Linked DNA regions of Homo sapiens: region 2 is linked to region 1. The links are contacts of gene promoters, found by promoter capture Hi-C in blood cells and fetal thymus (Javierre and others, 2016). All regions are on one chromosome and are shown on one strand. The core of a region is centred on a gene start or on the middle of the fragment in contact, and the rest is flanking DNA. Distances in the headings are between cores, read along the strand shown. Region 1 holds the start of ADAMTS18 (ADAM metallopeptidase with thrombospondin type 1 motif 18). Region 2 has its middle 31 kb from the start of LINC02131.

The links. The method cuts DNA at HindIII sites, captures the fragments that hold promoters and counts their contacts. A CHiCAGO score of 5 or more calls a contact.
Region 2: a contact is called between a fragment that was not itself captured here and the fragment with the promoter of ADAMTS18 in region 1, in 1 of 17 cell types (endothelial precursors). The highest score is 5.6, in endothelial precursors.

What each region holds. Positions count from the first base shown.
Region 1 is chr16:77,433,631-77,437,701 of GRCh38, reverse strand. ADAMTS18 (ADAM metallopeptidase with thrombospondin type 1 motif 18) reads left to right here and starts at 2,668. Exons shown (of 23, transcript NM_199355.4): 1 at 2,668-3,096; 2 at 3,197-3,284. The coding sequence starts at 3,007. RefSeq lists an enhancer at 2,472-2,972. The HindIII fragment of the contact is 7,514 bases long and covers 1-4,071 here.
Region 2 is chr16:77,557,612-77,561,649 of GRCh38, reverse strand. No RefSeq gene overlaps it. Among named protein-coding and RNA genes, the nearest start is that of LINC02131, 31 kb to the left of the region's middle. The HindIII fragment of the contact is 1,031 bases long and covers 1,932-2,962 here.

The DNA of each region.
Region 1 (4,071 bases), core at 1,419-3,918:
GGGAATCTGTACTATTTATCCAGGTTCTCACCTAGGGGAATTTTACCCACCAGGAAACATTTGGAAATCTCACAACATTTTGTTGCATTTTGGGGGCTGCTACTGGCATTTAGTGAAGTAGAGGCCAGAAATGCTGCTAAACATCCTATGTTTATAATGTACAGGATGATAGCCCCTACCACAAATGATTATCCAGCCCAAATCTCAGTACTGCTGAGATTGAGAAATTCCACAATTGAGCATAGAGCATAGTTAAGGGTTGTTCTCCGAGACTTCAGCCCTGACCATGGCAAGTAACCTATATTGTTAGCCCTAAAAGAGGAGGATCAGAAAAATATGGACAATTTCATGCAAATGTATCTTAATGGAGAGACACAAATCAGGGCCATGGTTATTTTTAGCTGAGTGTGGACAAGCCCTTCACCCTCCAGGTTCCGTCAGTGTTCACCTGATGATGTCGCTGACAGTGCTGTCAATCCCAGTCTCCTGTTTTATTCAGTCCGTTGCTTGGTGATGTGACCTCCAGCAGTGTTTTACTGCATGTCTTTGATGTCCAGTTTCCTCTTGTGTCCAGTTCTTCATGGAATCATATGAAGCACTTAAGTCACTTGTGTCTGAATCACCCACAAGTGCTTACTACAAATGCATGCTTGGGCCCTACACCAAATCCATGGAATCAGAATCACAGTGCTTCATGGCCTGGAAATCTGCATTTTTAAGCTAGCATTACAGGTGATTTTGACGTATATTCAAGTTTGACACAGGATGTATGAAATAACAGAAATACACCATCACTTCTTAAAGTCCACTTATAATGTGCTTTGAAAAATATATTCACTTACCCCTCAGGCTATCCTTTTGATGTAGCATGTTGATTCCTATTTTACAGATTATAAAACAGAGGCCACAGAGCTTAACCAGATTAAGTAGGGAAACCCAAATGATTTGTTTAGCCCTGATGTTCTGTGAGGCTTAGCTTCATGTTCCTTAGGCAGACACATCACCTTCTCTGCCGCTACAGCCTGGGTTTACCTCTTCCCAGCTGCATTCCATAAAACCGACTATGTGTATTGAGCTATCACTTAATCGAGGCTTGACATAGACCTCATGTTAACTACTTCAGTACCCACAGGACTGAGCAGAGTAATACATCTACTTCCACTACCACTACCCTGGTCCAAGCAAGACACTGTCATTGTACCCCTTCATGCCAGCAACAGCTGCGTGGTTTGTTTCTCTCTGACCCTGCCTCAGCTCGTCCAATCCCTACACTCGCTCAAAAAATGGTTCACATTTTTTTATTATTGGATATGATGTTGCCTCCTACACATACACAAACCCACATTCATTTAAATCTAATGGTTTCCAACATGCTTCGCCCCAGCTTACAAGGTCCAGCTGACCCAGCAACTGCTGTGTTTGCTTCTTCCTCTGGCCTGTAACACTTTTCACGTGGCAATCACTTAACTACCTTGAGACCTTCACTTATGCTGTGCCCCCTGTCCTAACATGCAAGATCCTACTCCCCTCTTCCCTTATAAAACCGATCCACTCTCTCTGGCCTTATTTTAAGTGTCAGCTCCTAACAGATGCCTTGCACGTGTATGTATGCGTGTGTGTGTGTATATATATGTGTGTGTGTATATATACACCCACACACACACACACACACACACACACACACACACATCTTATCCCATCTAAATTAGATTCTGCTGCCATCTAATTTAGGAGACTATTCTTTTCCTTTTTAGTATTTGTGTTCATTTTGCTTCTATTACCGTTGTCGAGCTATCCAATCAGATTCGTTTCCACTGGCCCGTGAGACTGTATTTTGTTCACCTCTGCAAACAGGGATCAAAGGATCAAATAAATGTCTTGAGTAAACGAACAGGCACACAGCAAACTGGATGCACATTCCTAGTGATGGCGTGCGCTGTTTGTTATAACTGATTTCTGTGGGTTTGGGTATCTGGGGCCAAGATTCAATCTCGAAGAGTGGGAAGCACGGTCACGTCAAGAAGAGAGAGAGAGATCCGGGAGAAGAGGGAGGCCCCCGCGTGCCATGAGTTTTTACATGCTGCAGACAGTGACAGCTCATTGTTCTGGTCCTCCCGGCTGCCTCAGATTTGCTGACTCTGGGAAGCTAGGTCAGCTTGTGCGCATCTGAGCCTCCTTTTCCTCATCTTTATCAAGGAATTAATAATTCCCACCTGAAAAAGGTAGGGCCTGAGGCAAATGCGATACAGCAGGGGATAGCTCCCAGCACTTAGGAGGTGTTGAGGACGCTATCTTGACTCTTTGCCAGAAGAGTTGAAAATGAGAAGTCTGCACAGGCAGCGAAAAAGTCGCGCCACTCACCTGAGCCTTTCGTCTTCCGAACTCATCTCCCAGTGCGCTTAAATTACGTTTTCCAAGCCTGACCCTGGGCGCTCCCCTCCTTCTCATGGCGGTCGGTCCCTCCCTCCCTATCACTCCCACCCAGCCTCCCCGCCCCCTTCGCCCCCTCCCTCAGAGCTGGAGCCGGGAATCCCACGCCCTTGCACCAGCCCGGGGGCTCGGACGAGCCCGGGAGCCGCTGGTCGCCAATCACCGCGCGGTGGAGAGGCGGGCGCTCGGCTCCGGCGCGCTGGGGGAGCCAGCTGGCGCTGTCTTCCCCATCGCCTCAGACGCTCACACCGACACAGACAGACGCACAGACGGGCGGGCAGACACCGACAGTCTCCCAACCGTTTGCGCTCCAGTCCCGGCCCAGGGAGCCCCCCGTACCCTCTGGGGTGCCGCAAACTGCAGCTCGGCAGGCCCGCGCCGGGAGAAGGGAGGGCGCGCAGGCGGCCGGAGGAGGGGAGGTCCCAGCGCGCCCCCGCTGCGATGTGAACGGCGGCGGCTCTCACCTGGAGCCGCACCTGGGGCGCCGAGCTCCGGGGCCGCGGAAAGAATGCGCGCCGCCCGTGCGCTCCGCCTGCCGCGTCTGGCCACCCGCAGCCGCCGCGTCCGCACCTGACCATGGAGTGCGCCCTCCTGCTCGCGTGTGCCTTCCCGGCTGCGGGTTCGGGCCCGCCGAGGGGCCTGGCGGGACTGGGGCGCGTGGCCAAGGCAGGTGCCGCCGAGCGGAGCTCCGAGAGCGGGTGGCAGGGGGCGCCCGACGCCAGCCCCGCCGCGCCCCTCACGCGCGATGTCACCTTTTCTCTTGCAGGCGCTCCAGCTGTGCTGCCTCTGCTGTGCGTCGGTCGCCGCGGCCTTAGCCAGTGACAGCAGCAGCGGCGCCAGCGGATTAAATGATGGTTCGTATTTGCCCCCCATCCCCAAGAAGGGCCTTTCGCAGCACTTTGACCCTTCCTTCCCCCAAAGAGAGAAAAGATGGAAAAGCGCACCCCCTAACCTGGCAGGTGTGCGCTGTCTTGGAAATGGTTCCTGTTTGGAGAGGGGGGAAGGTTGGCAAGGACTGAACTTATCAAAAGAATCAACGCCCCGAGCTGCAAGTCACATAAAAGCAAATACTCTCCCTCCTTCACAGGTGGCTTGTTAAGAAGAACAAGAAAAAAAAAAAAATCCTAACTGCAGTGAGAAATTCGAAGGGAAGTGGACATTAACTAAGGAATTACTTATTTCCTCCCTCTCCTAACTCTTGTTGGGGGAAGCTAATTCTTAGTGGGAGATGAAAGAATGTGAGCCTCTTTCCTCTCTCCATCTTTCCTCATTTTTCTCTCGACTTCTGTTCCTTTTCTATCTCTTCTTTTTTTTTCATTTCTGCTTCCCTTGTTTTACGGATGTCTAAGGCTGCTTTTAGAGAGAGGAAAGCAGGTGACTTCAGGTCTCTGAGTCCTTTATCTATCTTTTCTGACGTTCGCCAGCCACAAACTTCCAGAAAATCCCTCACTTCTGACATTTATTAACTTCCCAGTGGAGCCCAGAGGGAAATCCTTGTTTTGATTGTTTCCCATCAGCTACAGGAGAACAGCTGATTCCTGACGCAAGGTGTCTAGGAAAACCTTACAGCTCAACCTGGATTCTTTAGAATTCTGTAATTTTTAGTTTTGCAAGGTTATCTCCTTTTCTTGTCAGGGGAAT
Region 2 (4,038 bases), core at 1,198-3,697, 120 kb before region 1:
TATTGTAAAATTCATGGCTTTCATTTTCTGGGACCAGATAAGCCAAGAACACAAGAGATTAATTAAAAACAACTGGCTGGAATCATTACTCTTTCCACATCTAGGAGCAGCTTAGCGTATTAATCCTCATTTTTTCATTAACATAATCTGGAAATAAGATTACCCTCTCCTTATTGGTCAGGTATCATAAAGAAATGGTGGCAGAAAGCCTCAGTCATGGATTTCTTCAGTACCTGAGACCTCCCAAGGTCGTTGGAAATACTGGCAGCTGGAGTTATCAGTTTATGAGCTTCCGGCTTTGTTTTAAGTGTGATATTTTCTTAACTGCGGTTTACCACGGGATAGCCCTTTATGTTGGAAATCTGGCATCATTTAAAAGTTAGCTAATCTAAAAAGTACATCTTAGATTTTTATCAATGACTTAATCCTACCTCCACAAAGCCTTCGCTGTACTGTGCAAAGGTTGGCTTTGTCCTGTCTATAGTTTGTAGAGAAATGGTGTAGGTGCCATGATGGCTTGTGAGGTAGAGAGAAAACAAGGAGCTGAGTCAATTGAGGCAGAATTATAGAGTGGGGAGCAGGTACTCAGATGAAAGGCCAAGGTCTCCTGTCACTGTTTTCTGCTGTGATTCCCAACCACGTTATGGTGAGATGACAGAGGGAACTGGGCCTGTCCATCTCTCCTCCTGTCCCTTCAACAATGATGGAACCTGTACGGTGTATGAGGAGAAAAGCATGGTGCTTCCTCTCTAGCTGGAGAGAGAATTTTCATACCCAAGTGCTTTAGTATAGCCATACATAAATCATTGCCATGTGTCTTTGATCTTCACAGAATTCAAGGCTGTAGGAAAGGAGAGGGATTACTTTATGTGGAGTAAACAATGTTAAATCCCTAATAGGAGAAGGAGGATTAAAGAAGGACCTTGGAAAATGGAAGGGCATAAGGAATATAAAGGTATTTCACCAAAGAAGAAATATAACTGGTTGAAAAACGTGGACCCAAATTCAACTTCATAAGTAAACATAAGTAAGCTATATGTTTTATAATATTGACAAAGATTTTTTCCTTCAATGAAATTCCCTAAAGCCTGACAAGAATAAACTAGTCACATTCAAACATAATGGGGAGTCTGATATGCCATCTCATCCATCTGCTAGCTAAAGGGTTACCAAAAAAGATGCTCATATTGATATATTATTATTAACCAGCAAAACATGGGAAAACGTTCCAAATTACCCAAAACAAGGGGATAGTTAAATGATTGTTGGTGGACAAAAATTACATAGCTCTCCTGAGTGACATATATGAAGAGTTCATAACAACATTACTAAGTTCTTAGGAATTATTAAATGCAAAATTTAAGAGAAAATGTTTGCATACAATGAAAGTGATTTCAAATGCACATAATAAAGCATAAAGGGTCGGGTGCGGTGGCTCATGCCTGTAATCCCAGCACTTTGGGAGGCCAAGGCATGCGGATCACCTGGGGTCAGGAGTTGGAGACCAGCCTGGCCAACATGGCAAAAACCCATCTCTACTAAAACATACAAAATCAGCGGAGTGTGGTGGCGCACGCCCCTGTAATCCCAGCTACTTAGGAGGCCTAGGCAGGAGAATTGCTTGAACCTGGGAGGTAGAGGTTGCAGTGAGCCGGGATTGCACCACTGCACTTCAGCCTGGGCTACAGGGCAAGACTCTTTATCATGGTGGGGTGGGGTGTGAGGAAAATAAAAATATAAAAAAGCATAAAGGAAATAGATCAGTGTGCTACCAGGAGTTATTCTCAATATTTAACAATTAAAAGAAAAATATGTAGATTTCTACTACCAAAATTCATTTCACGACTTTTATAAGTGACAGAATCTTCAAATATGCCTAACAAACCATCAGGGCTAGATAAACAGGAGGTAGTTTCAGTTTGCATTAAGCTTGGGCTGTCCCATCCATGCCTTCCTCATTCATGGGTGGGGATTTGATTGGAGAGAGCCACATTCTGGAGAAAAACAAAACTCACAGTATGAATCTACCTTCTCAGAATTGCAGATCCCAAAACCCAAGAATAAGCTGAGTGCGGTGGCTCACATCTGTAATCCCAGCACTTTGCGAGGCTGAGGCACGCAGATCGCCTGAGGTAAGGAGTTAGAGACCATCCTGGCCAATGTGGTGAAACTCTGTCTCTACTAAAAATATTTTAAAAATTAGCGAGGCGTGGTGGTGTGCACCTATAATCTCAGCTACGCAGGAGGCTGAGGCAGGAGAATCATTTGAACCTGGGAGGTGGAGGTTGCAGTGATCTGAGATTGCACCAGTGCACTCCAGCCTGGACGACAGAGCAAGACTCCATCTCCAAAAGAACAACAACAATAACAACAACAAAAAACCCCAAGAGTATATCCGTGGGGGAAAAATAACACTGCATTTAAAACAAAAGAAAACCAAAGCCACCATAACTTTTTCTTTTCTTTCTACTTTCTCTGTGTTGAGAAAGTAGGAGGGAGACGTGATTCCAGGGTTGTCCCTGACACTTGCTCACTATGTGAGCCTGGTCAAAAATCTCCACTATCTGGGCCTCAGTGTTCCCATCTGTAAAATGTATTGGAGTCAACTCTGAACAACAGGAGATGGGACCCAAGCCAGCTGTTTTTAAGAAGGAAATTTCTTAAGGATAAACAAGAGACCACAAAAATCCATGTATGTTTGTGTTTATTCTACTATAATAACTTCCAAGAAACTTTGCACAGCAGTAGGATGCAATGTAATCAAATGTTGGCATGGAGTGGAGACTGTGGCAACTCCTGTTTCAGAAAACGGGATATTTAATTGATCTCCACAGCCCCTTCCAGGCTTAGCACCCTTGCATCTCTGGGGTTTGAGTTCCCGTTTATATCCTTCTAAGATGGGCATCCAAAGTCCAGAAATACCTCAGCAACTGTTGTTCATGCTAAGAAAATAGTTGAAGCTTCTCTCCTTCTCTAGGCCAAGATCTTGGTGAAGTGTCTTGTGCATTTCACACAAAGCATATGGTATTTTCTCAACTATCAAGAATTTGTGAGAAAATCTAGTATCTATTAATACATGTACAATCCCATTATCTTTCTGAGACAGAATCTTGCTTTGTTGCCCAGGCTGGAGTGCAGTGGCATGATCTCGGCTCACTGCAACCTCCCCCTCCTGGGTTCAAGTGATTCTTATGGCTCACTCTCCCAGATAGCTGGAACTACAGGCGTGCATCACCTCACCCAGCTAATTTTTGTATTTTTAGTAGAGATGGGGATTTGCTGTGTAAGGCTGATCTTGAACTCCTGACCTCAAGTGATTCGCCTGCCTTGGCCTCCCAAAGTACTGGGATTACACACGTGAGCCACCATGCCTGCCCCAATCCCATTCTCTATCAACCCCAAACTTAGGGCCCAGTTAAGACTTTCACAGCACTAAGAAAGATGTTAACACTACTACCACTAAGTATAAAAAGAATACATAATAATGTTAATAATAGCAATTAGGGATACAAACACTGCTCATAATGTTAACAATATTAACTGAATCTGTTAAAGATTTTTAGATGCAAGCTACTTCTCTGAGTAATTAGCAAAAAGAAATTTAGTAGAAACATGTAGTCTTGCTTGTAGGATCGAAGGAAGAATGGGACAATCAGACAGTAGCAAAGACAGGAATCAGGGCTTTTTATGGGATGAGATAGCAAGAAGAAATAGCTTCTTTGGGATGACAATATTGATGTGAATCATCTCCATCCATGCAATTCAACCTAGATTGTCAGGAGAAAGAGTAGACAATGCTGTCTGAATTTTCAGATGCATTACCCAGGAGAAAAATTTCTACCTTTTTTGAACATTTGTATGATGACCTACATGAAGACCTGTGCTAACAGTTTGTTGACGTATTCCAATCTCCAGCACAAACTTTCAAAGAAGTATTAATATATCTTTTCTACAGATAAAGCCCTTGTGGCTCAGAGAAGTTTAGTAACTTGCACAGGGTCACACAGCACAGTTGCTGAGACTCTAATCTGGGTCTTT